4 separate regions of the Homo sapiens genome follow, and all the other regions are linked to region 4. The links are contacts of gene promoters, found by promoter capture Hi-C in blood cells and fetal thymus (Javierre and others, 2016). All regions are on one chromosome and are shown on one strand. Each heading gives the region's core, a stretch centred on a gene start or on the middle of the fragment in contact. The rest is flanking DNA. Distances are from core to core; before and after follow the strand shown.

The links. The method cuts DNA at HindIII sites, captures the fragments that hold promoters and counts their contacts. A CHiCAGO score of 5 or more calls a contact.
Region 1: a fragment that was not itself captured here is called in contact with the fragment with the promoter of PNPLA6 in region 4 in 1 of 17 cell types (naive CD8 T cells); the score reaches 5.4 in naive CD8 T cells.
Region 2: a fragment that was not itself captured here is called in contact with the fragment with the promoter of PNPLA6 in region 4 in 1 of 17 cell types (M1 macrophages); the score reaches 5.9 in M1 macrophages.
Region 3: a fragment that was not itself captured here is called in contact with the fragment with the promoter of PNPLA6 in region 4 in 1 of 17 cell types (M1 macrophages); the score reaches 5.2 in M1 macrophages.

What each region holds. Positions count from the first base shown.
Region 1 is chr19:7,089,425-7,095,781 of GRCh38, forward strand. It overlaps LOC124904625 (a long non-coding RNA gene), which reads right to left. Exons shown (of 3, transcript XR_007067110.1): 2 at 2,871-3,027; 3 at 1-27. Among named protein-coding and RNA genes, the nearest start is that of ZNF557, 23 kb to the left of the region's middle. The HindIII fragment of the contact is 1,691 bases long and covers 3,237-4,927 here.
Region 2 is chr19:7,141,261-7,148,455 of GRCh38, forward strand. INSR (insulin receptor) reads right to left here. Exons shown (of 22, transcript NM_000208.4): 12 at 1,556-1,830; 13 at 417-556. Among named protein-coding and RNA genes, the nearest start is that of ZNF557, 75 kb to the left of the region's middle. The HindIII fragment of the contact is 1,821 bases long and covers 3,972-5,792 here.
Region 3 is chr19:7,803,056-7,809,378 of GRCh38, forward strand. All of the region lies in intron 1 of LOC124904628 (a long non-coding RNA gene), which reads left to right. Among named protein-coding and RNA genes, the nearest start is that of EVI5L, 24 kb to the right of the region's middle. The HindIII fragment of the contact is 161 bases long and covers 3,274-3,434 here.
Region 4 is chr19:7,533,997-7,540,976 of GRCh38, forward strand. It overlaps PNPLA6 (patatin like domain 6, lysophospholipase), which reads left to right and starts at 1,721. Exons shown (of 32, transcript NM_001166114.2): 1 at 1,721-2,024; 2 at 2,195-2,277; 3 at 2,453-2,550; 4 at 5,922-6,062; 5 at 6,153-6,312; 6 at 6,634-6,714; 7 at 6,927-6,980. The coding sequence starts at 1,793. MCOLN1 (mucolipin TRP cation channel 1) reads left to right here. Exons shown (of 14, transcript NM_020533.3): 14 at 1-13. RefSeq lists an enhancer at 1,556-1,795. The HindIII fragment of the contact is 24,808 bases long and covers 1-6,980 here.

The sequences.
Region 1 (6,357 bases), core at 2,832-5,331, 440 kb before region 4:
ATGGCAGATCGTAGGACACCCATAAGCCTGAAGGGACAAAGGAAGAGAACTGCAAGTTGTTGTTCAAGCGAGGAGAGGGCTGCATTCCAGGAGCTGACAGGAGGTCAGTGAGGGGCAACATCCAGCCTCGAGTTCTGCAAGAAATAGTAAGGGTCGGCCAGGCACAGTGGCTCACACCTATAATTCTGGCACTTTGGGAGGCCGAGGTGGGTGGATCACTTGAGATCAGGAGTTCAAGACCAGCCTGGCCAACATGATGAAACCCATTCTCTACTGAAAATACAAAAACTAGCCGGGTGTGGTGGCATGCGCCTGTAGTCCCAGCTATTCAGGAGGCTGAGGCAGGAGAATTGCTTGAACCCGGTAGGTGGAGGTTGCAATGAGCCAAGATCATGCCATTGCACTCCAGCCTGGGTGACAGAGTGAAACTCCATCCCCACCCCCCCACCACCACCAAAAAAGAGAAAGAAATAGCCAGGGCCAGCCCTCCTTGTCCTTCATTCTTCTTATATCATATTTGGGTTCCCCATTTGCCAAACTCAACCAAAAGCCAATAAGGTAAGGGAGTTCGTTGATAGCATTCATAGTAACTAATCATCCCAAGTACAGCAGGGTAGAGGAGGTGAATCTGCTGGGGCGAATGGAAGATACCCAGTATTGGTCACTCCTTTTGCTTCTCAGAATCTACTCATGCCCATCACCTGGATGGAAAGTTCATATCCAAGCCCAGGAATTCTATCAGTTGCTCAGCTACCCTGGGGTGGTGTCCATGCACTGATACTCCCCGATGAAGCCTAACATAGTTGCCAACACCAGTGTTTCCTGTATAGGATGAGGAACAGAGCCATTGGGGAGGAAAGCAAAAGAAATAATTAACCTGGCCAGGCGCAGTGGCTTACCCCTGTAATCCCAGCACTTTGGGAGGCCGAGGTCGGTGGATCACGAGGTCAGGAGTTTGAGACCAGCCTGGCCAACATGGTGAAACCCCGTCTCTACTAAAAATACAAAATTAGCCAGGCACAGTGGTGGGCGCCTGTAATCCCAGCTACTCAGGAGGCTGAGGCAGGAGAATCTCTTGAACCCGGGAGGCGGAGATTGCAGTGAGCCGAGATCATGCCACTGCACTCTAGCCTGGGTGACAGAGTAAGACTTCATCTAAAAAAAAAGAAAAAAGAGAAGTAACCTAAAGGACTTGGTTCCCAGAGGGAAACACTTCCACCAAGAGACACAGTAAGAGTCTCATCGGATGTTAAACTGTGACTTCTATGAGACCAGCACACAAGGAAAGAAGTCACCATACTGACTTAGGTAATTAATGCTATCATCCATAGAATCTGAGGCTGCTGTTACATGATGAGTGCAGGGAGGAAAACATTTGGCATTCACGGAATCCATTGGGATGTCTCTTACTATTCTTTCCCCAATTTTAAAGATAAAAAAATTTTGGCCAGGCGTGGTGGGTCACGCTTGTAATCCCAGCACTTTGGGAGGCCGAGGTGGGCACATCACAAGGTCAGGAGATCGAGACCAGCCTGGCTAACATGGTGAAACCCTGTCTCTACAAAAAATACAAAAAAATTAACTGGGCGCGTTGGCAGGCGCCTGTAGTCCCAGCTACTTGGGAGGCTGACGCAGGAGAATGGCGTGAACCCAGGAGGCGGAGCTTGCAGTGAGCCGAGATCGCGCCACTGCACTCCAGCCTGGGCAACAGAGCGAGACTCTGTCTCCAAAAAAGAAAAAGATAAAAAAATTTCACCAGCTATGTCCTGAGAAGGGCATGGTGAAGACCCCGTAGGCATAAGGATCTGGAGCAGCTCTCCAGGTAAGCCACCTAGACCAGCAGGATCTAGGTGAGAAGGAAATCTAGAATTTTCACCCTAGTCAAGGGTAAAGGGAATCTGGAAGGTGCAAGTAAAGGAGTGTGATAAGCATCAATTGCATCTCTGAGACTTGTTCAGGTGGAAAGGGCTGTCTACAGTTTGTCCCACTGATCTTCCTCTTGTCAGTTTCTCCAGGCAACGGGACCAACCTGGATCCTGAGGGCACTTACTTTAAGAATCCTGGGGCCGGGCACAGTGGCTCACGCCTGTAATCCCAACACTTTGGGAGGCAGAGGCGGGCAGATCACTTGAGGTTAGGAGTTCGAGACCAGCTTAGCCAACATGGTGAAACCTCATTTCTACTAAAAATACAAAAAATAGCTGAGTATGGTGGCACATGCCTATAGTCCCAGCTACTCCAGAGGCTGAGGCAGGAGAATCACTTGAACTCAGGAGGCAGAGGTTGCAGTGAGCCAAGATGGTACCACTGCACTCCAGCCTGGGCAACAGAGGGAGACTCTGTCTCAAAAACAAAACAAACAAAATGAATGCAGGGCATCTGAGTGGCACACATGGTGGACCACAGTAGGTACAGTGGTGGCACTACCCAGCAAAAGAGCTCTTCACCCAATGTGCTAGAAGCCAATACTATGACATCAGATTTTTGAGAAAAGGAAAGGTTTGTATTGCAAGTTAACAAGGAGACAGGAGTCCAGCTCAAATTTGTCTTATGCTGACTTTAAGGCAATAATTTTCTTAGAAAAGGTGTAGGGCGTGGATTCTGGGATTAGCAGGCGATTGGTGGGAGGAAAGGTCTGTTAAGTCCTCAGGCAGGTGCAATGATCTCTTCATGCCTCCCCATGGGTTCCATGTGCAAAGTCATACTAACTCAAGGGAGTTTGTATGAAACACGTGGAAATTTGCACTGTGACATCAGCAAGCTCATTCTGCACAAACTCCATTTGGCCATGTGGGTTCTCACAGATTTTAGGCAGTTTTGTTACAAGTGGAGGCAGTTTCAGCGTTTTAGCAAGTTATTTCTTTTTTTACCTGCCATCCTGCAAACTCAATGAGAGGTGAAGCCAGCTGGACTTCCTGGGTCGAGTGGGGACTTGGAGAACTTTCCTGTTTTACAAGAGGATTGTAAAACACACCAATCAGCACTCTGTAGCTAGGATTGTAAACCGCACCAGTGAGCGCTCTGTAGCTAGCAAGAAGATTGTAAAATGCACCAATCAACAGTCTGTAAAACACACCAATCAGCAAGATCCTGAAAGCAGCCAATTGCAGGGAGGATTGAAAAAAGGGCACTCTGATAGGACAGAAACAGAACATGGGAGGGGTCAATAAGGGAATAAACGCTGGCCACTCCAGCCAGCAGCGGCAACCAGCTCGGGTCCCCTTCCAAGCTGTGGAAGCTTTGTTCTTTTGCTCTTCACAGTAATCCTTGCTACCGCTCACTCTTTGGGTCTGTGCCATCTTTAAGAGTGAAGGTCTGTGGCTTCTTTCTTGAAGTCAGCGAGACCACGAACCCACCAGAAGGAACCAGCTTCCAACACATCAAGAATTTCTGCTAGTCTTTGCTTTAACACTTTAGGCATGGTTTCAGTGGCATATTTCCCAGATTCTTCCTTTAAGACTAAGGCACTAAGGCCAGGCGTGGTGACTCACGCCTGTAATCCCAACACTTTGGGAGGCTGAGGCAGGTGGATCACGAGGTCAAGAGATCAAGACCATCCTGGCCAACATGGTGCAACCCCGTCTCTACTAAAACTACAAAAATTAGCTGGGCGTACCTGTAATCCCAGCACTTTGGGAGGCCAAGGCCGGCGGATCACGAGGTCAGGAGATAGAGACCATCCTGGCTAACACGGTGAAACCCCATCTCTACTAAAAATACAAAAAATTAGCCAGGCATGGTGGCGGGCACCTGTAGTCCCAGCTACTCGAGAGGCTGAGGCAGGAGAGTGGCGTGAACCTGGAAGGCGGAGCTTGCAGTGAGCCGAGATGGCGCCACTGCACTCCAGCCTGGGCGACAAAGACTCCATCTCAAAAAAAAAAAAAAAAATTAGCTGGGCGTGGTGGCGTGTGCCTGTAGTCCCAGCTACTCAGGAGGCTGAGGCTGGAGAATCGCTTGAACCTGGGAGGCGGAGGTTGCAGTGAGCCAAGATCTTGCCACTGCACGCCAGCCTGGTGACAAAGCAAGACTCCATCTAGAAAAAAGAAAAGACTAAGGCACTCCCCTAGCTGCTGGAGGTGTTGCCTGATGATGGTGATGCTGCTGTCCTCTCTGGGAACTCCCCAAGGCCCAGAGGAAAGTGCCCAACCCAAGATTATGCTCTCTCTCCAGGGGTTGCCTACTTCCAGTGACTGGTTGATGTAGGGGGTACAAAGGTCCAGTGCCTTTGTTTCAATGTAGGACACCCCTGAAGGGCAACCCCAGCACCAGAACTCCCTGTGGGATCGACGGCAGCCTCAGTTGACAAGTTACATGTCAGCCTCATCTGTCCCCTCCGCTTCTCGCATGCCTTTAAAGATGTTGTTCCCAGGAGTTTTATCCAATAAACAAAAAATTGCCAGCACAAAATCTGTTCCCAGAAAACCTGATCCGAGATAAGATCACTCTATCAGGGTAAAGAATCCATTCAGGGCCGGTCTCAGGAGATCGAGACCATCCTGGCTAACACAGTGAAACCCTGTCTGTACTAAAAATACAAAAAATTAGCCGGGCGTGGTGGCGGGCGCCTGTAGTCCCAGCTACTCAGGAGGCTGAGGCAGGAGAATGGCGTGAACCCGGGAGGCAGAGCTTTCAGTGAGCCGAGATCGCGCCGCTGCACTCCAGCCTGGGCGACAGAGTGAGACTCCATCCCAAAAAAAAATAAAAATAAAAATCCATTCAGATAAGGGACTGGCAGAGAGAAAGCAGAATGTGGAATGGATGTGGAAGAATTAAATTCAGTCCTGAAGACCAGGTCCCAAAGCAGGAATAGAAGACAGCTATGCTTTGGGTTTGGGTTTTTTAAAAAATCTTTAATTTTTTCCGCTTTTTCCCTGGTTCCCCACCACCACCATCACCATTTTATATGAAGAGTCCTGGTTGTGGCCAAAGCTTAAGGTTTCTGATGGGAATACGACCAAATGACATTATCCCAACAGTAGCTTCCTTTGTATCTCTTTTTTTTTTTTTTTTTTTTTGAGATGGAGTCTCACTCTGTCACACAGGCTGGAGTGCAATGGTGCCATCTCTGCTCACTACAACCTCCGCCTCCTGGATTCAAGCGACTCTCCTGCTTCAGCCTCCCGAGTAGCTGGGACTACAGGCACACGCCAGCACACCCGGCTAATTTTTGTATTTTTAGTAGAGATGGGGTTTCACTATGTTGGCCAGGCTGGTCTTGAATTCTTGACCTTGTGATCCGCCCACCTCGGCCTCCCAAAGTGCTAGGATTACAGGCGGGAGCCACCGCGCCCGGCCCCCTTTGTATCTTATGTAGGGACATGAACTTAGCGCCAAGTGAAGGACAAGAATTGATATCCAAAATCCAATAGATTTTTCTTTTAAATACCTGAAAGTGAAACTGGCCCAATTTTCCCATATTGCTGATGTTTATGGTTTCCTTGAATAAACAAACAAATTGATCTTCCCAATCTTAAAACTTAAGAAAGTTACATTTATCTTATCTGAGTTCCTTTCTCAGGAAACCAACCATCAGGCCTCCCAGATAGTATCTAGGAGCTGAAACGCACCAGAATACTGCATTTGTACAGTGAGACATCAGACCCATCACCCATCATGATTGCCTAACTGACCACCTGCTTCCTGTTGACCAACTCCTCTTCCTTACCCTTCCCTAATTCCTGTATTCCCACACATGGTAACATTTCTTCCCTGCTATATAAACCTCAAATTTTAGTTGGTCAGGGAGATGGATTTGAGATTGTTCTCCCACCTCCTCAGCTGCAGCAGCTGATTAAAGCCTTCTTCCTTGGCAATACTCATTGTCTCAGCGATAGGCTTTCTGTGCAGTGGTGAGCAGCAGGACCTAGATTGAACCCCTGGTGTTTCAGCAACAACATAGTTCATCACCAGCAGAACTGCACTTCAAGAAACACTAAAGAAAGTTTTGGGCCAGACACGGTGGCTCACACCTGTAATCCCAGCATTTTGGGAGGCTGAGGCAGGTGGATCACCTGAGGTCAGGAGTTCGAGACAAGGCTGGCCAACATGGCAAAACCCCATCTCTGCTAAAACTACAAAAAAAAAAAAAAATTAGCTGGGCGTAGTGGCGGTCGCCTATAATCCCAGCTACTTGGGAGGCTGAGGCAGGAGAATTGCTTGAACCCAGGAGGTGGAGGTTGCAGTGAGCTGAGATCGCACCGTTGCTTTCCAGCCTGGGCGATGGAGCGAGACTCTGTCTCAAAAAAAAAAAAGAAGGAAGGAGGGAGGGAGGGAAGGAAGGAAGGAAGGAAGGAGAAGGAAAGAAAGAAGGAAAGTTTTGGGGCTGGAGGAAAATTATTCCATGTGGAAGCAATTCCA
Region 2 (7,195 bases), core at 3,632-6,131, 390 kb before region 4:
GCCAGGCTGGTCTCAAACTCCTGGCCTCAAGTGATCTGCCTGCCTCGGCCTCCCAAAGTGCTTGGATTACAGGTGTGAGCCACTGTACCCAGCAATTTATAAGGTTTTAAGACTCAAATAACTCCTTCTAAAGTGAAATGAGTCTCCTGTTGTGGTGGGAGGCAGACATCATTCAACTTAGAGGACACAGCTGGAAAGCAATGTGAGAAACTAAGAAAAGTAACAAGCTGGTAGATTGGCATTTCTGACCCATCTTCCTGCGAAGTCAGGTATCAAGGCTTTAAGTACTAATAGCACAGTACCTGATGAGAGAAGCACTGGAATCAAAATTTCAGCAGAGGAAGGAGGTACCAAGTGCAACTCTGAAGGGGCATGCTGAAGTGTGCAGGGGCATGCCCAAGAGTCAAGGGCCTTACCTCATCACCATATCGCCGATAACTCACTTCATACAGCACGATCAGACCATTGGGCTCCTTCGGCTCCTGCCACATCAAGTGGACGACGTTGTTCTCAAAGATTTCATGCGTCACAGGGCCAACAATGTCATCAGCCTTGGCTGTAAGGAGAGGAAGTGAGAGGCAGGGATGTAACTCTTGGATGAGATCCCACTTCTGCCACCTGTCCATGGTGCAACCTTGGGCTGGTGACGTCATTTTCCCACAACCCATTTTCCTCGTCAGAGAACGGACATCTAAAACTCATCCCACAAGATTGTTAGGAAGATTAAATGGGTTACTTTCTGCGTATAACTTTTTTTTTTTTTTGAGACAGAGTCTTGCTCTGTCACCCAGGCGGGAGTGCAGTGGTGTATTTTCTAAAGTTTACATAATGATTGCCTATGACTCATAATTTTAAAATATGACCTGGCATGGTGGCTCATGCCTGTAATCCCAGCACTTTGGGAGCTCAAGGTTGGCGGACCACTTGAGCTCAGGCATTGGAGACCAGCCTGGGCAACATGGTGGAACCATCTCTACTGAAAATACAGGTGTGGTGGCACACGCATGTAGTCCCAGCTACTCAGGAGGCTGAGGCAGGAGAATTGCTTGAACCAGGGAGGCGGAGATTGCAGTGAGCCAAGATTGCGCCATTGTACTCCAGCCTGGGCGACAGAGCAAGACTTCATCTCAAAAAAAAAAAAAAAAAAAAAAAAGGCCAGGTTCGGTGCTCATGCCTGTAATCCCAGCACTTTGAGAGGCCGATGTGGGTGGATCACTTGAGCCCAGGAGTTCAAGACCAGCCTGGGCAATATGGTGAAACCCCATCTCTACTAAAAATACAAAAATTAGCTGGGCGTGGTGGCAGACACCTGTAGTCCCAGCTACTTGGGAGGCTGAAGCAGGGAATCACTTGACATAGGTGGCAGAGGCTGGAGTGAGCTGAGGTCGCACCACTGTACTCCAGCCTGGGCGACAGAGCAAGGCTCCGTCTCAAACAAAAATGAAGGCCAATAAGGTAAAATACAGATATGCACTGCTTAGAGGGTGGAGAATCTGTCCTTGGTCAGCCTTGATGTCCCACCCATGACACTCGGACCCCGGAGCAGCAGCCCTACCTTCAGGCATGGTCCTCGCACTGACGTAGGCTGCCACACTGCACCGTTCCTCAGGGGTGTCCTGGTTGCAAGCCTGCAGCTCGATGCGATAGCCCGTGAAGTGTCGCAAGCCGGAGATGACCAGCGACTCCTTGTTCACCACCTTCTCAAAAGGCCTGTGCTCCTCCGGACTCGTGGGCACGCTGGTCGAGGAAGTGTTGGGGAAAGCTGCCACCGTGGGCACGGCCACCGTCACATTCCCAACATCGCCAAGGGACCTGCGTTTCCGAGATGGCCTGGAACGACAGTAGGACATGTATGATGACACCATCACCATCATTTTTTTTAAAAAAGTGACACTGGAGAATAAAAGGCTTGATTAAGAAGAAAGATCAGAGCGCAGGAGGGTGCAGCAATGGGGAACATGGATTACAATACAGACTGCCAGGAATGACCACTCAGAGCAGCTTTCAATATACCCTTGTGAGCATCTGAAGGATTAGAGCAGGCCCACCTCGTGAGGGATGAGTGCTTCTAAGACCGTCAATGGTAGACACACACCGATATTCCCCTCGACATGCTCGATTTCAGGTTTTTCATTTTGCAGATAAATAGGCCAGCCAGGGTCAGTGACAAAAATAAGACACCAAAAGCACGTAAGAGTCTAGCTTTTCAGGAAGCCCTGCCAAATGGCATTTGCTCATTGGCCCAAGCTACTGATCGACATCATCAGTTTAAATAGGAAAAAATACATCTTTTCCTTCTTATTGCTGCTTAGGGCACCTGTATAATTTGAGTGATTAAGCTGCAATTCTTAGAAAAGGAATCACATCACTCAGGTCAGGAAGATTAACTCCAAGAAACATCTATGCAATTGGCACACTTCTCCCCATCCCTTAAGAAGACATATTAAACAACAAAGGTTGATAGCTAACAAATTTTAAAATACAAAGAAAAAAGGATAAAGAAGAAAATGTAGGCTGGGCGAGGTGGCTCATGCCTATAATCCCAGTACTTTGGGAGGCCAAGGCGGGCAGATAACCTGAGGTTAGGAGTTCAAGACCAGTCTGGCCAACATGGGGAAACCCCGTCTCTACTAAAAATACAAAAATTAGCCGAGCCTGATGGTGCACAGCTTTAATCCCAGCTACTCAGGAGGCTGAGGCAAGAGAATTGCTTGAACCCGGGAGGCGGAGGTTGCAGTGAGCTGAGATCGTGTCACTGCACTCCAGCCTGGGCGACAGAGTGAGACTCTGTCTCAAAAAAAAAAAAAAGAAAAGAAAATATAAATCACTCATAAATCCACAGCCCACTGCTTCCTTTGGACAATTTTTTCCCTGTAAATATTATGTGTGAACATGATGAGGATCAAGCCTGTTTTATAAGTAAACTTTGTCTACTTATTATATTGGAAGCATTTACTAAATATTTTCCTTTCAACATAACATTTTAGGAGAGAATTTTGGGACTTTTCCTTTTTAATATTAGGGTTTTCCTCCATCATCTACAAAAGTAGCATGTGTTCCCTGCAGAAAACTTGGAAAACGATGAATGACTGTAAAATATTCCATTTGCTACGTGAGTCGTCACTCACTTAACCATCCTCCTTATTTATTTATTTATTTTGAGACAGAGTTTCACTCTTGTCGCCCAGGCTGGAGTGCGACGGCGTGATCTTGGCTCACTGCAACCTCCGCCTCCTGAGTTCATGCGATTCTCCTGCCTCAGCCTCCTGAGTAGCTGGGATTACAGGAGTCCGCCACCATGCCCAGCTAATTTTTGTATTTTTAGTAGAGACGGAGTTTCGCCATGTTGGCCAGGCTGGTCTCAAACTCCTGACCTCAGGTGATCTGCCCACCTCAGCCTCCCAAAGTGCCAGGATTACAGGCATGAGCCACCGCACATGGCTCTTTTTTTTTTTTTTTGCTGTTATAAATATTCCTTTGATCATTGTCTGATTGTCTTATTACTTCCCCAAAGTAGATTCCTAGAGGAAAATATTACTAGGTTCAGGGAGATAAGAAACTCTTTAAGCTTCTTAATACCTACAGCTAAATGGTTGTCCAGAAACTCTATATTGACTTGTGGTTGCACCAGCAGGCCATGAGACTGCATTCCAGGACAATCTCAGCAACCCCTAAGCCTTAATAGTTTTTTTTTTTCTTTCTATGTTTGTTTGTCTAGATCTTTAACCCAAGAGATTAAAAATATGCTATCACTCGACTACGTTATTTGCGGATCTTTATATTACTGAGTGTGACTTCATTTTTCCTTTATTGGTTCTCTGTGATTCTCCAAAGAATTGTCCCCTCCTTGTCTTTTGTCTGTTTTTCCATGAATTTCTTGTGTTTTCCTTACTCCTGTGTTGTTTATTCATTAAGGATATTAACCTTTTATGTATCGTGCTATACAACTTACTCTTTTCCATTTGCCAGTAAGCTTTCTTTAAATGATTTGAAACAGGCTTTCATGTTTATTTGTACAATTTAATATATCAGTAACACTTTAAAACGTGTTCCTTTATAAGTCATTCTAGATGGGGTTATTATGAGTTGTGCTAAGGTTTTACGGCAATTTTGAAAGGGATCTTTTCCCTTATTTTATATTCTAATTATTGCTTGTGTATCTACAGTCTTTTTGCTTATTTCTATGTACCTACTTTCCCAAACTCTAACTCATTTAAAAAGTTTCATAATTGGCTTTCCTGGGTTTTCAATGACACACTAGAAGAGGGGTCAACAAAATTTTCCCGTAAAGGGCTAGATAATAAATATTTTGGGTTTTGCAAGCCAAATGACCTCTGTCACAACTACTCTGTCATTGTAGCTTAAAGCAGCCCTACATGATGTGTAAACAAGTGGGTGGGGTTGCATTCCAATAAGAGTTCATTTACAAAAACAGGCAGCTAGCCCATGGGCCATAGTTTGCCTACCCTTGAGCTAGACGCTCTGCAAATAGCAATGACTTTATTTCCCACATTCCATTCTTTACAACTCTGATTTCTGTTTCTTGTCTTATTACATTGGCTGGATGCCCAGAGAAATGTTAATTAGTAATGATGAGATGGGGCTTCCTTGTTTTGTTCCTAACTCTGCTAAGAATAATTTTAAGAATGATGTTAGCTTGGCTGTTGGTTTAACCTAGGTAATATTTATCTTGTAGAAGAAATATTCTATTATGAGTTTTATGAAGCCTCTTTTTTTCCTCCCCTTTCTCTAAGTTAGGAATTTTAAATTAAGGTTATTGAAACAGATATGATCTTCCTTATTGCACCTCTTGATGAACTAGATGATGTTATCAAATCTTCTGATCTTAAACCATCCTTGCATTTTGGAGATAAACAATATTGCCAGTGCAGTGTTTTATTTGGGACATTTGAATCTAACATCACATATTAGCTTGGCCTGTGGCTTTTGTTCAGTGCAGTATCTTTGTCAAGTTCTTTTTTTTTTTTTTTTTTTTTTGAGACAGAGTTTTGCTCTGTTGCCAGGCTGGAGTGTGCAATGGCGCAACCTCGGTTCACTGCAACCTCTGCCTCCCAGGTTCAAGCGATTCTCCTGGCTCAGCCTCCCAAGTAGCTGGGATTACAGGCGTGTGCCACCATGTCTGGCTAATTTTTGTATTGTTAGTAGAGACAGTGTTTCACCATGTTGACCAGAATGTTCTCAATCTCTTGACCTTGTGATCCGCCCCCCACCTCAGCCTCCCAAAGTACTGGGATTACAGGCATGAGCCACCATGCTCAACCTCTTTGTCAAGTTCTTTAAGGGTGTTATGTTCATTTCATAAAATGAACTGGGATAACTTTTATAGATTTCTGTGCCCTAAAATAGTTTTTCTATTATAGGAAATAGTTGCTCTCTCACAATTTGAAAGAACGTGTCTATAAAACTCTCTGGGCCAAGGGACTTTTTTGAGGAAATTATTTGACACATATCTTTTTCCAAGGTTCATAACCACTTAATTTTTCTGCTTCTTTTTGAATCCATTTAGACAAGTTAAATTTTCCCACCTTACTGAAACTTTCAAATTTAGCAAGTGCACCATTGTCCAAAGAACTTAACACATTAAAATTTTCTTCAGACGCTAGTTTTATGTCATCTTCTTTCCTTCTGGTTTGTGTTTTCCCTTTGATTATGTTTACCATAGGCTTAGCTGTTATTGCTTTTCCCTTCCTAACACATTTATAGTTTTATAGTTTAAAGTTTATTTCTTAATTTATCAATCCATTTAAGTCTGCTAAGTAACATCAAAGCCAAGCTTTGACAATATTCTACAAGTTAAGGTATGTGATATTCACATTTTCATTATTTTCCAAAAGGACTTCAATGGAAGTTTCCATTTCTGCTTTGGCCCGATAGATATGTAAGTGTTTAACTTTTTAACTTTTTTTTTTTTTAGACAGAGTCTCGCTCTGTTGCCCAGGCTGGAGGGCAGTGGCGTGATCTCGGCTCACTGCAACCTCCACCTCCCAGGTTCAAGTGATTCTTCTGCCTCAGTCTCCTGAGTAGCTGGGACTACAGGCGCACGTTACCACATCTGGCTAATTTTTGTATTTTTAGTAGAGAAGGGGTTTCACCATATTGGCCAGGCTGGTCTCAAACTCCTGACCTCAGGTGATCCGCCTGCCTGGGCCTCCCAAAGTGCTGCGATTACAGGTGTGAGTCACTGCGCCCAGCCTGTAAGTGTTTAACTTTTAACCACCAAGAAGTGAAGTTTTCTGTTTAATCTTTTGAAATTAACTTTTAGTTTCTATTGCAGCGTCATCAGAAAATGTGTGGTCAGAAAACAAATCCTACTTTGGGGGCATTTCTTAAGATTCTCTTTATGGTCTTTTTGTATTAAAAGACTAACAACATTGTAGAATGGAAAAGAAAACAGCTCCACCACTTATCAAGCCAAAGATATGTCCGTATTAGCAAGATTCAGATAATTTCTATACAGGCACAAATGGGTCTCGTGAAAATAACCAAGACGTTGGTGCTTCATGAGTAACTACTGAGAAATTGGTATCTCAACAACCAGAGATGTAAAATGGGCTCATCAAACAGGCCAAATGAGTTTATATACCAAAAAGATTATAACCAAAAAGACCATGAAGTGGCAAAAGACAAAGCATCAACTGATTTTTTTTTTTGAGACAGAGTCTTGCTCTGTTGCCCAGGCTGGAGTGCAGTGGTGTGATCTTGGCTCACTGTAACTTCCAATTTCTGGGTTCAAGCGATTCTCCTGCCTCAGCCTCCCAAGTAGCTGGGATTACAGGCGTGCATCATCATGCCCGGCTAATTTTTGTATTTTTAGTAGAGACGGGGTTTCGCCATGTTGCCCAGGCTGGTTTCAAACTCTTGACCTCAGGTGATCTGCCTGCCTGGGCCTCCCAAAGTGCTGGGATTACAGGCATCAGGCATGAGCCACAGCACCTGGCCTAGGCAGCATTTTATTATCCAGCAATCCCACACTAACCTGGTCATCTCAACCAAGGGTCCTTCTGACCCCATCACCCAGGGGGATATTTAGCAATGTCTGAAGATATTTTTGGTTATTACTACTTTAGGGGGAAGACACACTACTGGCATCAGATGAGTGGAAGCCAGGGATGCTTCTCAGTGTTGTTGGACAGTGCCCTAGAATAATCTGACCCCAAATATTATTTATTATTAT
Region 3 (6,323 bases), core at 2,104-4,603, 270 kb after region 4:
TGCAGGAGTAAGGTGGTATCACATTGTGGTTTTGATTTGCATCTCCCTGATCATTAGTGATGTTGAGCATTTTTCCATATGTTTGTTGGCCATTAAGACACTTCTATTACTTGGAAAATTCCAAGAGTTTAGACGCCCCCTGCCAGGAACCAGAGGTAGTGACTAGACAGATTATTTAGCACACAATATCTTTCTATCTTAAAATCGCAATCATATCTGCAAAGTCTCTTTTTGCCATATAAGGTGACATTCATAGGATCCAGGGATTAGGACTTGGATATCTTTTTTTTTTTTTTTTTTGAGAAGGAGTTTCACTCTTGTTGCCCAGGTTGGAGTGCAATGGCATGATCTCAACTCACTGCAACCTCCACCTCCCAGGTTCAAGTGATTCTCCTGTCTCAGCCTCCTGAGTAGCTGGGATTACAGACATGCACCACCACACCTGGCTAACTTTGTATTTTTAGTAGAGACAGAGTTTCACCATCTTGGTCAGGCCGGTCTCGAACTCCCGACCTCAGGTGATCCGCCCGCCTCAGCCTCCCAAACTGCTGGGATTACACATGTGAGCCACCATGCCTGGCCAGGACTTGGATATCTTTGCAGGCCATCATGCATCCTAGCTCAAAGAGTAACTAGCTGAGAAAGACTCCCAGGTGGGGGATGGAAGTCGAAATGCGTACCTGGTGGCCTAACTGCTTGCTGAGCTGGGTTAAGTGGCAATTTGGAAGATCCACAGACAGATCTAGTCTAACTTACTGATGATCAAGTGGAGATCTCTGACTCACTGAACAGCAACAGAGACGAACTGACAGGATTGACTTCCAGGCTGACTGACAACCTCAACGGCAGAGCCTCTTCCAGGTTGTAGTGACAAATGTACAATGGAAGCACAGGTGGACAGGAGAAGCCCAGGAGTCTCTTCCTGGGGGTGGAGCTGAGTAAGTACCGGCTGTGGCTGGGGCAGAAGGAAGAGGCCCCCAGGTTAAGCTGGAACTTCCCCAGGATCCTGTCCATGGCTCACGCATGCCCTCGAGCCCCTGGTACTCCAGGCTTAGATGCTGGGGCAGCAGGGCTGGAGGGAACCTCAGGGCAGGAGCCCAGAGAGCCAAATAACTGGATTCAAAGGGTCCATCCTCCCTTCACCATTGGCCTCAGGCATACCTGATCAATGCACAGGTCCCAGCTTGCAGTCTCCTGGCTCTAACTGGCTGGTGTTAGAGCAGATCCATAAAGACCCCAAATAAGAGAGTCAGGACCAAATTGTCCTCCCTGGCCCTTGGCCCCAGCCCACCCCCCTGCCCCACTCCCCAACACACAAGAGTCAACCTTCCAGGGAAGAAAGGAATCCCTGGAGCCTATCCCTCATCCTAGAACAGATATTCAGTCAGCTTTTATGGTCCTGGAATATTGGTCTTGCTAGAAAGACTATTCTAAATGCCAACAGCTGGCCGAGTGTGATGGCTCATGCCTGTAATCCCAACACTTTGGAAAGCTAAAGTCAGTGGATCACTTGAGCCCAGGGGCTCAAGCTCAGCCTGGGCAACATAGTGAGACCCTGTCACTATAAAAATAGTTTTTTTTGAGGTGGAGTCTCGCTCTGTCGCCCAGGCTGGAGTGCAATGGCGTGATCTCGGCTTACTGCAACCTCTGCCTCCTGGGTTCAAGCGATTCTCCTGCCTCAGCCTCTTGAGTAGCTGGGATTACAGGCACACCCCACCACACCTGGCTAATTTTTGTATTTTTAGTAGAGACAGGGTTTCACCATGTTGGTCAGGCTGGTTTCGAACTCCTGACCTCAGGTGATCCACCTGTCTCAGCCTCCCAAAGTGCTGGGATTACAGGCATGAGCCACTGTGCCAGGCCTGTTAAATGACTTTTCTAAACTACTTCTGTAAAGTCTATATTCTCTGTCATGGCTACTGAAGTCTTTGCTCAGTTAGCTTCATGGTTAGCTAGTGGTTGGACAGAGATTTCCTTGAATGTCTGGAATCGGAAGTCTGCCAGTCTTTGCCAGGGAGCTCTGTGTACTTATTAGGGACACACCTTCAACATTCACCCAGGAAATTTACAACTGTGCTTTAGCTCTCACTTCCTGCTTACACAGAGCCTCGAAGTCGGCCAGCGGTGTGAGCTTAGGGCTGTCTCAGGTCTTTCCTAAGCATGTGGCCTTCCATATCCCCAGAAATATGTCAGAATTTTTCAAAAGTCCCTCCGAACATCTAATGTCTTCATTTTTCCTTCTAAGATTTTTTTTTTTTTTTTTTTTGAGACGGAGTCTCGCTCTGTGGCTCAGGCTGGAGTGCAGTGGCGCGATCTCGGCTCACTGCCAGCTCCGCCTCCTGGGTTCACACCATTCTCCTGGCTTGGACTACAGGCGCCCGCCACCACACCCGGCTAATTTTTTGTATTTTCAGTAGAGACGGGGTTTCACCGTGTTAGCCAGGATGGTCTCGATCTCCTGACCTCAAGTGATCCTCCCGCCTCGACCTCCCAAAGTGCTGGGATTACAGGCGTGAACCACCGCGCCTGGCGCTTTTCCTTCTAAGATTTTTAGTTAGGCTATTATTTCCCCAACTGTTAAGTATTGCCACAGGCAGCTGCAATGTTAAAACATTTAACAAATAGCCCCTGGGGAGAAATGTTTAGCATCCGGCAAGTTCAAGTGAGGTCAGGTCTTTCAGAGCAGGGTCTTCCAGAGTACCAATAAATAGGTCAATAAATGACTCTTCTTGGCTGGGTGCGGCGGCTCACGCTTGTAATCCCGGCACTTTGGGAGGCCGAGGTGGGTGGATCACTTGAGGTAAGCAGTTTGAGACTAGCCTGGTCAACATGGTGAAACCCTGTCCCTGCTGAAAACACAAAAATGAGTCAGGCATGGTGGCGGGCACCTGTAATCGCAGCTACTCCGGAGGCTGAGGCAGGAGAATCGCTTGAACCCAGGAGAAGGAGGTTGCAGTGAGCCGAGATCACGCCACTGCACTCCAGCCTGGGCGACAGAGCGAGACTCTGTCTCAAACACACACACACACACACACACACACACACACACACACACACACACACACCTCTTCTTGAATGATCCTGAATGAGGTTTTGAAGGAGCCGCACCTCTGTTCTTTTCCGTATGGTATCAAGATTGTGGGCTGTTATTTTTCAAGGCTACCCTCTGAGCTGGAGAGCCAGGAATAAGACTAGAGTGAGTTAAAATTCTACAGAGCTTGCTGTTTTTTTATGTGTTTTTTTTTTTAATTAAATGCTCTGCAAATTACTGTAAGCTTTTGGTTAATTTCCAGAGTTGTGAAAATGTTGATTCTGTCAAATTTTGCCAGTTTTTTTCATTGCTTTTGTAGAAAGGCAAATTTTACTCTGCCATTTTGCTGACGTTCTTTTTTTTCCCCTTCGATGCTTAAATTATCTTTAATTTGGCCAGTGAAAGCTTTTCTCTCTGGCTTCTGGGTCCTTTTGACATATTCCTATTGGTTTTTTGCTGATCGTTTTTTCTTCCTTCCTGGCCTAACTAGATGTTCTAGGCTTTTGTCCCCCCCAACCCTGCCTCAGCCTCCCAAGTAACTAGGACTACAGGAGCACGCCACCACGCCTGGCTAATTTTTAAATTTTTTGTAGAAATGGGTCTTGCTATGTTGCCCAGGCTGCTCTCATTTTTCCAAAAAGCCCTGGGCTAGGTGGAGATTGGCAGTTAGAAATGATCTGGGTGTTAAGTGTGCCCATTGTTACTGGGGTATGTGGCTCCCAGGTCCTCTTAGTAGATAAATGGGAACACACACACACACACACACACACACACACACACACAAACTTATTTCTATATTTATCTTTATATTTTGAAAACCATGAATTCACCTCAGTACCTCCAATTCAATAGGGTTTATTCTTGTTTTTTTTTGTATCTTTTCTTTTTTTTTTTTCTTGAGACCGAGTCTCGCTTTGTCACCTGGGCTGGAGTGCAGTGGCGCAATCTTTGGCAGTCTCAGCTCACTGCAGCCTCAACCTGCTGGGCTTGAGGGATTCTCCTGCCTCAGGCTCCTGAGCAGCTGGGACCACAGGCTCACGGCACCACACCCAGCTAATTTTTTGTCTGTAAAGACAGGGTCTCACTATGTTTCCTGGGCTGGTCTGGAACTCCTGGACTCAAGCGATCCTCCCACCTTGGCCTCCCAACGTGCTGGGATTACAGTGGCCGGGTGCAGCGGCTCACGCCTGTAATCCCAGCACATTGGGAGGCCGAGGCAGGTGGATCACCCGAGGTCAGGAGTTCGAGACCAGCCTGGCCAACATGGCAAAATCCCATCTCTACTAAAAATACAAAAATTAGCCGGGCTTGGTGGCGGGAGCCCGTAATCCCAGCTACTTGGGAGCCTGAGGCAGCAGAATCGCTTGAACCTGGGAGGTGGAGTTTGCAGTGAGCCGAGATCTTGCCACTGCACCCAGCCTGGGTGACAGAGCAAGACTCTGTCTCAAAACAAAACAAACAGAAAAACAAAGTGCTGGGATCACAGGCATAAGCCACCACACCTGGCCTCTGCATCTCATGAGCATTTATTTTGTGCTATGTGTTTTTTGGATATGACCTCAAAGAATCCGGTAACACAGCCGCCCTCATTCTCATTTTACCTATGAGCATAGTGGCTCAGAGATGAGTCACCTGCCCACAGCCCATCAGCTGATAAACACTGGAGTTGGGTTTGAAACTGTGAAAGCAATGAGGACCACATCATTTTCACTTCCCTTCGTGGCCCCAACTCAAACCAACCCAAAACCCAAGAAAGAAGATGTGGAGATTGTGTTGCCTTTCATAACTGGGAAGCGCGGGTGAGTGGAGGGGACCAGATTCAGGATCTGCTTTTCTTTCTTTCTTTTTTTTTTTTTTTTTTTTTGAGACGGAGTCTTGCTCTATCGCCCAGTGGAGTGCAGTAGCGCGATCTCGGCTCACTGCAACCTCCACCTCCCGGGTTCACACCATTCTCCTGCCTCAGCCTCCCGAGTAGCTGGGGCTACAGGTGCCTGCCACCACGCCCGGCTGATTTTAGCATCTGCCTTTCTTTATCTGTCTATGATCTGTTTGCTCCAGAATGTAACCTTCTAGACCAAAGGTTGGCAAACATTTGAAAAGGGCCAAATAGTAAATATTTTTGGGCCTCGAGGGCTCTCTGCTGCAACTCTGCTATTCTAGCACAAATGCGTCACATACAATACATAAATGCATGGGCAGAAAACAATTTGTTAGCCGGGCACAGTGGCTCACGTCTGTAATCCCAGCACTTTGGGAGGCCAAAACAGATTAGGGTTTTCCAAGGCTGCAGGAAGGCAGGAATGTGGAGTGACTGCTTAGTAAGTATGGGGGGCTGGGCATGGTGGCTCACGTCTGTAATCCCAGTACCTTGGGAGGCCAGGGGAGGAAGATTACTTGAGGCCAGGAGTCTGAGACCAGCCTAGGCAACATAGCAAGGCCCCATCTCTACAAAACATTTGAAAATTAGCTGACCACGGTGGCACATGCCCACGTCCCCAGCTACTCAGGAGGCAGAGGTGGGAAGATTGCTTGAGCCCAGGAGGCTGAGGCTGCACTCAACCATGATTGTGCCACTGCAGTCACCCTGGGTGACAGAAGAAGACCCTCTCTCAACAAAAACAAAAATAAATAAATAGGCCGGGCGCAGTGGCTCATGCCTGTAATCCCAGCACTTTGGGAGGCCGAGGCGGGTGGATCATGAGGTCAGGAGATCAAGACCTTCCTGGCTAACACGGTGAAACCCCGTCTCTACCAAAAATACAAAAAATTAGCCAGGCATGGTGGCAGGCACCTGTAGTCCCAGCTACTCAGGAGGCTGAGGCAGGAGAATGGCATGAACCCGGGAGGCGGAGCTTGCAGTGAGCCGAGATTGCACCACTGCCCTCCAGCCTGGGCGACAGAGTGAGACTCCGTCTCAAAATAAATAAATAAATAAATAAATAAATAAATAAATAAATAAATAACTATGGGGTGTCCTTTTGGGGAGATGAGAATGTTCTGGAACTAGGTAGTAGGGATGGTTGCACAACATTGTAAATGTACTAAATGTCACTGAATTGTATACTTTAAATGGTATGCTTTAAATGGTAAAGTTTATGTTATGTGTATTTTACTACAATAGAGGAAATGAAGGGAATCCTTCAGGATGAAATGAAAGAACACTAGACAGTAACTCAAATCCATATGAAAGGCCAGGCGTGATGACTCTTGCCTGTAATCCCAGCACTTTGAGAGGCCAAGGCCCACCTGAGGTCAGGAGCTTGAGACCAGCCTGGCTAAACATGATGAAACC
Region 4 (6,980 bases), core at 471-2,970:
GTTTTCATTTTTAGCGGGAGGAGCAGTCCTTGCGTTAAGCGGTGTGAGGCCCTTTAAGGCGCGGCCACACTCAGCATGGCGGCCTCAGTCGGCCTTCCAAGCATGGCGCGGGGAGGAGGGGTGGGAGGGTCGGGAGGGACTGCGGTGCGACTAGGAGTGAATAATTTAAAGGGGCCGTGCCTGCGGAGCCGGGCGGAACGCTAGCGGTGTTGGCGCGGAGTGGACCCCGGCTGCGGCCCCTGGGTGAGTCTGGGTTTCCGTTAGCCTCGCAGGGGTGTCCCTTCGAGGGTCGTTAGCGAGCCTCCGCTTTCCCACGATCTGTCCTCCGATTCCTGTTAACTCTAGACTTTCTGATGTTCCCATACCCCCCACGTCTCGGCAGGTGTTTCCACACCGGTAGCCAGCTGTGCCCTGAGGTGGAAGAGGACCGGCCACCCAGGAATTTTCCAAGTAACGACTCGGAGTCTCCGGGATTCCTATCTCCCGGCCCCCGAATTTCCATTAATATTCTAGCGATGTCAGAAACATCCTCAGCTTCCCAGAAAAATCCCAGTAATATTCCAGCATCTCTCAGTATCTTCCAAGGAGCCCGGACGCCCTCCCCAGGCCCGCTCTCATAAGCACCCCAGGAATGTGCCCACCCACCTCCTGGTTTTCCCAGCAGTAGTATTGTAATCCTCAGAATCTCAGTAACTTTCCAGTGACCCCGCATCCCCACCCACTAATCCCAGCGTCTCTGGTTACGCCTCCCAGCAATGGCGCCACCATCGGTCCCGGAGTCCCAGTGATGCTCTGTGCCATAGAGCCCCCATAACTTCACTACTACGTGATAGTAAATCCCCGGCAAAAACCAGCAGCGCCTTGCAAGCCCACGCCACCCCAAGCATCCCAGGACTCTTCTGAAACGTGGGTATCAGACGCCTTCCGCGGATGCCCCGGCAGTACTCCCGTGCCTCCCAGCTCCTGGGTCTTCCCCGGGGCAGGCTTGCGTCGGGAGCCGAGTATCTAGGTGCCCACTCCCGGACCCCACGGTTTGCGGGCCCGTTTTCCTGGGGTGGGGCATTCAGTCTTCGACGGAGTAGGGGGTGCGGCCTGGGGGGTGGGGTGGTCAGGCTTGATCAACCCTGCAGAGGGCAGTGACCCGGGAGGAAGTCACCAGGTGCAGAGGACCGTGCCCTGTGGGGACCTGCCTGCAGGCTGCTGACAGTGGGTACCAGGTCGGCCTTTGGCCCCGGGGTGGGGTTGGACAGGCGGGCGTCTGGTAGGCCCTACGCGTAGGCGAAGGGAGCAGGAAGCCGGGGACCCGCCTCATCTCCTGGCCAGGGCCGAGAGGTCGGTTTGCTCCATCCCTTAGTCCCGCAGCGCCCCTCTAGCCTCGCCCCTGGCAGCTGGAGACGCTTCCCCCGCCACCCCAGAGGGCAGGGCTTGAGCTGGGGGCAGGGCTTGAGGCAGGGGAGAGGTGGGCCCAGATTGACGACTTGCACGGGTTCCTTCGACTCCTTGATTTCCCAGGACTCCGGGCTACCAGATCGGCCGTCCAGCTGGAATCAACCGATGGAGGCTCCGCTGCAAACTGGAATGGTAAGGGGTGGGGCGGAGACCGGGTAGGTGCCGGCGTGGGGCGCCAAGAGGACTACAACTCCCGGCGTGCTCAGCGCGCATTACGTGGTCTGGCGATAACGCGCTGCGTCCGCTCGGGCGGAACTACGTTTCCCGGCATGCACTGCGGGCCGCCGGGCCTCAGGGAAGAGTCGCGCCCCCGGGGAGGGAGCAGCACTGGCCCATTCTGCAGATGGGGACATCGAGTCACGGGCTGGCTACGAACTCCTCGGGGGCGAAGGTGGCGGAGAGGGATGGGTTCCAGGACGTCCTGGCGCCCGGGGAAGGCTCGGCGGGACGGATTTGCGGTGCGCAGCCAGTGCCGTTCGTCCCTCAGGTGCTTGGCGTGATGATCGGGGCCGGAGTGGCGGTGGTGGTCACGGCCGTGCTCATCCTCCTGGTGGTGCGGAGGCTGCGAGTGCCAAGTGAGCACCCGAGGGGCCCCTCTTGGGAGGCTGTATGGTGGGGGGCCCAAATGCCCGGGTCCCGAGGCGGCAGAGATGGGGATTTGCTGGCGTCTGTTCGCGGTACCCCAGCTCTGGCAGGGTGGAGTCTGCACAGAGCTCGGAGTGCCCCTGTCCCCACCTATCCCCAGAAACCCCAGCCCCGGATGGCCCCCGGTATCGGTTCCGGAAGAGGGACAAAGTGCTCTTCTATGGCCGGAAGATTATGCGGAAGGTGAGTCCGGGACCCCTGGGGTCCGCCCTGACCACACAGAGGCCGCGCCCCTTCCCTATTTACACTTCTTAGTGTCCGCCACCGCTCCTTCCTTGATGGAGACCCCCTGGATCCGTCTGCCTCTTCTCCAAGGTCTGAATTAGCAATTCACCCATCTCCGCCTTCATTCTCCCAGGTGTCACAATCCACCTCCTCCCTCGTGGATACCTCTGTCTCCGCCACCTCCCGGCCACGCATGAGGAAGAAACTGAAGATGCTCAACATTGCCAAGAAGTAAGGCTGTGCTGGGTGTGACCTGGTATTAGGGGTTATCTCAGGGGCCTTTTGAGTAATCAGCTTACACCAAAGTGTTGTGGAAGTCTTCCCATATTGGCTGCGCGCTGTGGCTCATGCCTGTAATTCCCAGCACTTTGGGAGGCTAAGGCGGGCAGATCACCTGAGATCAGGAGTTTGAGGCCAGCCTGGCCAACATGGCAAACCTCATCTGTACTAAAAATACAAAAATTAGCTGGGCGTGGTGGCATGGGCCTGTAATCCCAGCTACTCAGAAGGGTGAGACAGGAGAATCACTTGAATCTGGGAGGTGGAGGTTGCAGTGAGCTGAGATCATGCCACTGCACTCCAGCCTGGGCAATAGAGTGAGACTCTGTCTCAAAAAAAAAAAAAAAAAAAAAAAAAAGAAGAAGAAGAAGAAGAAAGTCTTCCTGTTTCAGAGAGACATCTCTGGACTCTCCTCTCAGAGCTCTTCCACACCAGACATGCTGTCTCTAGGGTATCTCTTCCCTGAGGGCTACCTCAGTGACCTTCTCCTTCCACTGGAGTATCTGAGCTATTTGTTCCCAAGTCAATATCTCAGAGGTCTTGCCATATACTTAGTGGGGGGGTCTACATCAGGGGTTTCCATGTAGGTTATTTCATGAGTCTCTTCACATGAGTGGTTTTCTTCCAGGGTACCTCACTGAGGTAATTGTGTTTCTACGATCTCCTAAAGGGGCTATCTCCAGCCTCCAGCCTCTCTTCTCCGGGGGTTATCTCAGGCATCTCTGTACATCAGAAGGCATCTTTCCTATGTTATGGACCTTGAAGTTCTTCCCACACTAAGGAGGCTGTCTCAGGAGTTTCTGTTCCCTAGGGGCTATCTTATGAATTTTCTTGCACTAGAAATATAGGAAGGATGCATCAGAGATCCCTGTTGGCAGCAAGGTCTGCGAGAAAGGCTCTCCAACTCTCTTTGCAAGTTGGGTGCTGGCTCTGGGATCCCTGTGCGTCATGTAGTCTACCTGGAGGTCTGCCTCAAGGGTTTCTTCACACCAGGGCAGGGCTCTCCATGATCAATAGTCCTGCAATGGCAGTCCTTTCTTTTTTGTTTGTTTGTTTGTTTGTTTTTGAGATGGAGTCTTGCTCTGTCACTAGGCTAGAGTGCACTGGCACGATCTCGGCTCACTGCAACCTCCACCTCCTCGGTTCAAAAGATTCTCCTGCCTCAGCCTCCCGAGTAGCTGGGACTACAGGCTCATACCACCATGCCCAGCTAATTTTTGCATTTTTAGTAGAGACGGGGTTTCACCATGTTGGCCAGGATGGTCTCGATCTCTTGACCTTGTGATCCGTCCGCCTCGGCCTCCTAAAGTGCTGGGATTACAGGCATGAGCGACTGAGCCCGGCCAATGGCAGGGCTTTCTGTGAGTTGAGTAGAAGGACTATCTCAAAGTTCCCCATGATCAGTTGAGGGTCTATACCTCAGGTTTCTCCACATCACAGGAGCTGTCTGTAGTGTTTGCACACTCTTAAGGGACTACCCTGATATCTTCATGATTGTCAGAGGGCTGTCTGAGCTTTCTGTGACCTAGGGAAGAGTTAGCCCAAGATCTCCCTGATCAAAAAAGGAATAATCATAACAATTATAATTATTATTATTATTTTGGAGACAGGATCACACTTTGTTGTTGAGGCTAGAGTGCAGTGGCACAATCACAGCTCACTGCAGCCTTTACCTCCTGGGCTCAAGAGATCTCTCCTGCCTCAGCCTCTTAAGTAGCTGAGACCATGGGCATGCACCACCATGCCTGGCTAATTTTTAAATTTTTTTGTAGAGATGGGAGTCTCACTGTGTTGCCTGGGCTAGTCTTGAACTCCTGGCCTCAAGCAATCCTCCCACCTCGGCCTCCCAAAGTGCTGGTATTACAGGCATGAGCCACCACGCCCAGCCAAAAAAGGAATTATATCTGAATTTCTTGATTTCACTGAGTTTAACTCAGGGTCCCATCCTCCAAGGTCTATCTCAGGGATCTTTTGCCAGCGGAGGGTCTTTCTCAGCAATCACTGTGACTTGTGGGGAAGGGCTCTCCCAGGTCCACGATTAGCAGAGGGGCTATCTGGATTCTCCACTTATAATGAGGGCTACTTCAGGGACCTCTGTGGCTGTCAGAGGGGCTGTCTCAAGGTTCTCTGAGACTGGGAGGAAGGTCTATCTCAGGAATGTTTATGTAGAACAGAGAGACTGTATCTGCGGTCTTCTCATATATTGGAAGCTATGTCAAAGGCATACTCACGTTAAGGGGACTATCTCAGGAATCTACTCTGTGACTACTGGAAGGACCGTTTCAGGACCCCCATGATAAACACAGGTACCATTTCTGGGCCTACCCTTATCTTGGAAGCTATGTCAGGGGTCTGCCTTCCTAAAGGGTTCAGCTCAGGGGCCTATGCCTAGTGGAGGGGCCATCTCAGAGAACTTTAGGTCTGGGGTCATAGGGTTTTTCCATAAAGGGCCAGATAGTAAATGTTTCAGGCTTTGCTGGCCACATATGGTCCCCATTGCAACTCTTCAACTCTGCTGCATGGGAGCAGCCATAATGATATGCAAATACATGAATGTGGCTTTGTACCAATAAAACTTTATTTACCAAAATAAATGTGGCCAGCCGGGTGCAGTGGCTCACGCCTGTAATCCTAGCACTTTGGGAGGCTGAGGCGGGAGGATCACTTGAGTTCAGGAGTTTGAGACCAGCCTGGCCAACATGGGGAAACCTCATCTCTACTAAAAATACAAAAAATTAGCTGGGCGTGGTGGCACCCACCTGTAGTCCCAGCTACTTGGGAGGCCGAGGCAGGAGAATCGCTTTAGCCTGGGAGGTGGAGGTTGCAGTGGGCCGAGATTTCGCCACTGCACTCCAGCCTGGGTAAAAGAGCGAGACTCCTGAGGCAGGGCACAGTGGCTCACACCTTTAATCCCAGCCTTTGGGAGGCCGAGTCGGGCGGATCACCTGAGGTCAGGAGTTCGAGACCAGCCTGCCCAACATGGAGAAACCCCATCTCTACTAAAAATGCAAAATTAGCTGGGCGTGGTGGCACATGCCTGTAATCCCAGCTACTAGGGAGGCTGAGGCAGGAGAATCGCTTGAACCCTGGAGGTGGAGGTTGCAGTGAGCCGAGATCGCACCATTGCACTCCAGCCTGGGAAACAAGAGCAAAACTTCGTCTCAAAAAAAAAAAAAAAAAAAAAAAGGTGGCCAGCCTGATTTGGCCAGCGGGCCAGAGTTTGCTGTACATGAGCCCTGGGGAAAGGGGTATGCGGGGGTCTTAGGTTTGCCTGAGCCTTCTCCGTGCCCCCCTCACCCCCGGCACCCCTCCCCTCCCACCAGGATCCTGCGCATCCAGAAAGAGACGCCCACGCTGCAGCGGAAGGAGCCCCCGCCCGCAGTGCTAGAAGCTGACCTGACCGAGGGCGACCTGGCTAACTCCCATCTGCCCTCTGAAGTGCTTTATATGCTCAAGAACGTCCGGTCAGTGTTGGGGTGCAGGTGGGGGTGGAGGGCTGCAGACGTGGGGCCGCCCTGACCTCCAGCCTCTGTCGCCCACCGCCTGTCCAACAGGGTGCTGGGCCACTTCGAGAAGCCACTCTTCCTGGAGCTCTGCCGCCACATGGTCTTCCAGCGGCTGGGCCAGGGTGACTACGTCTTCCGGCCGGGCCAGCCAGATGCCAGCATCTACGTGGTGCAGGACGGGCTGCTGGAGCTCTGTCTGCCAGGGCCTGTGAGTGGGCCTCCCCAGGGGCTGCTGCAGGAGGATGGGTGGTGGGGATGGGCAGCAGGCATTGGTCTGTAGAGCTGGTGGTCTTTGGAGATGCGTCATCGGGAGTCAGGGGAACGGGTGACCGAGGACATTTGGGGTAGTCTGCGTAGTTGCTCAGTAGTTACAAGTATTGAACGATGGGAGATGCCTGCTCGTTGGAAGGGTTGGTGGGTTCCCCTGAGAAGGGATGAGAAGTGTCAGTGATCATTGGGATGGATGAGGGGGCGACATGCCAGTCACCAGGGCGAGGCCACTGAGGGTCCACGGTCTCCTGTGTCTCAGGACGGGAAGGAGTGTGTGGTGAAGGAAGTGGTTCCTGGGGACAGCGTCAACAGCCTTCTCAGCATCCTGGATGTCATCACCGTGAGTGACCAGTTTCTGAGGCAGGGGGGCTGGGGTGCAAGGTCCCACCCAAGGGACTAGGTTGAAGGAAATCACAGGGTCCCCAATCTCTGGTTCATCCGTTATGCTGCCGATGGCCCCTCACGGGACTGGCGCCAGGAAGGATTAGGGGAGTAGCGAGGGGGACTCGCAGCCTCTGCCCTTGTCTCTCTTCACGCCCTCCCCTCCCCCAGGGTCACCAGCATCCCCAGCGGACCGTGTCTGCCCGGGCGGCCCGGGACTCCACG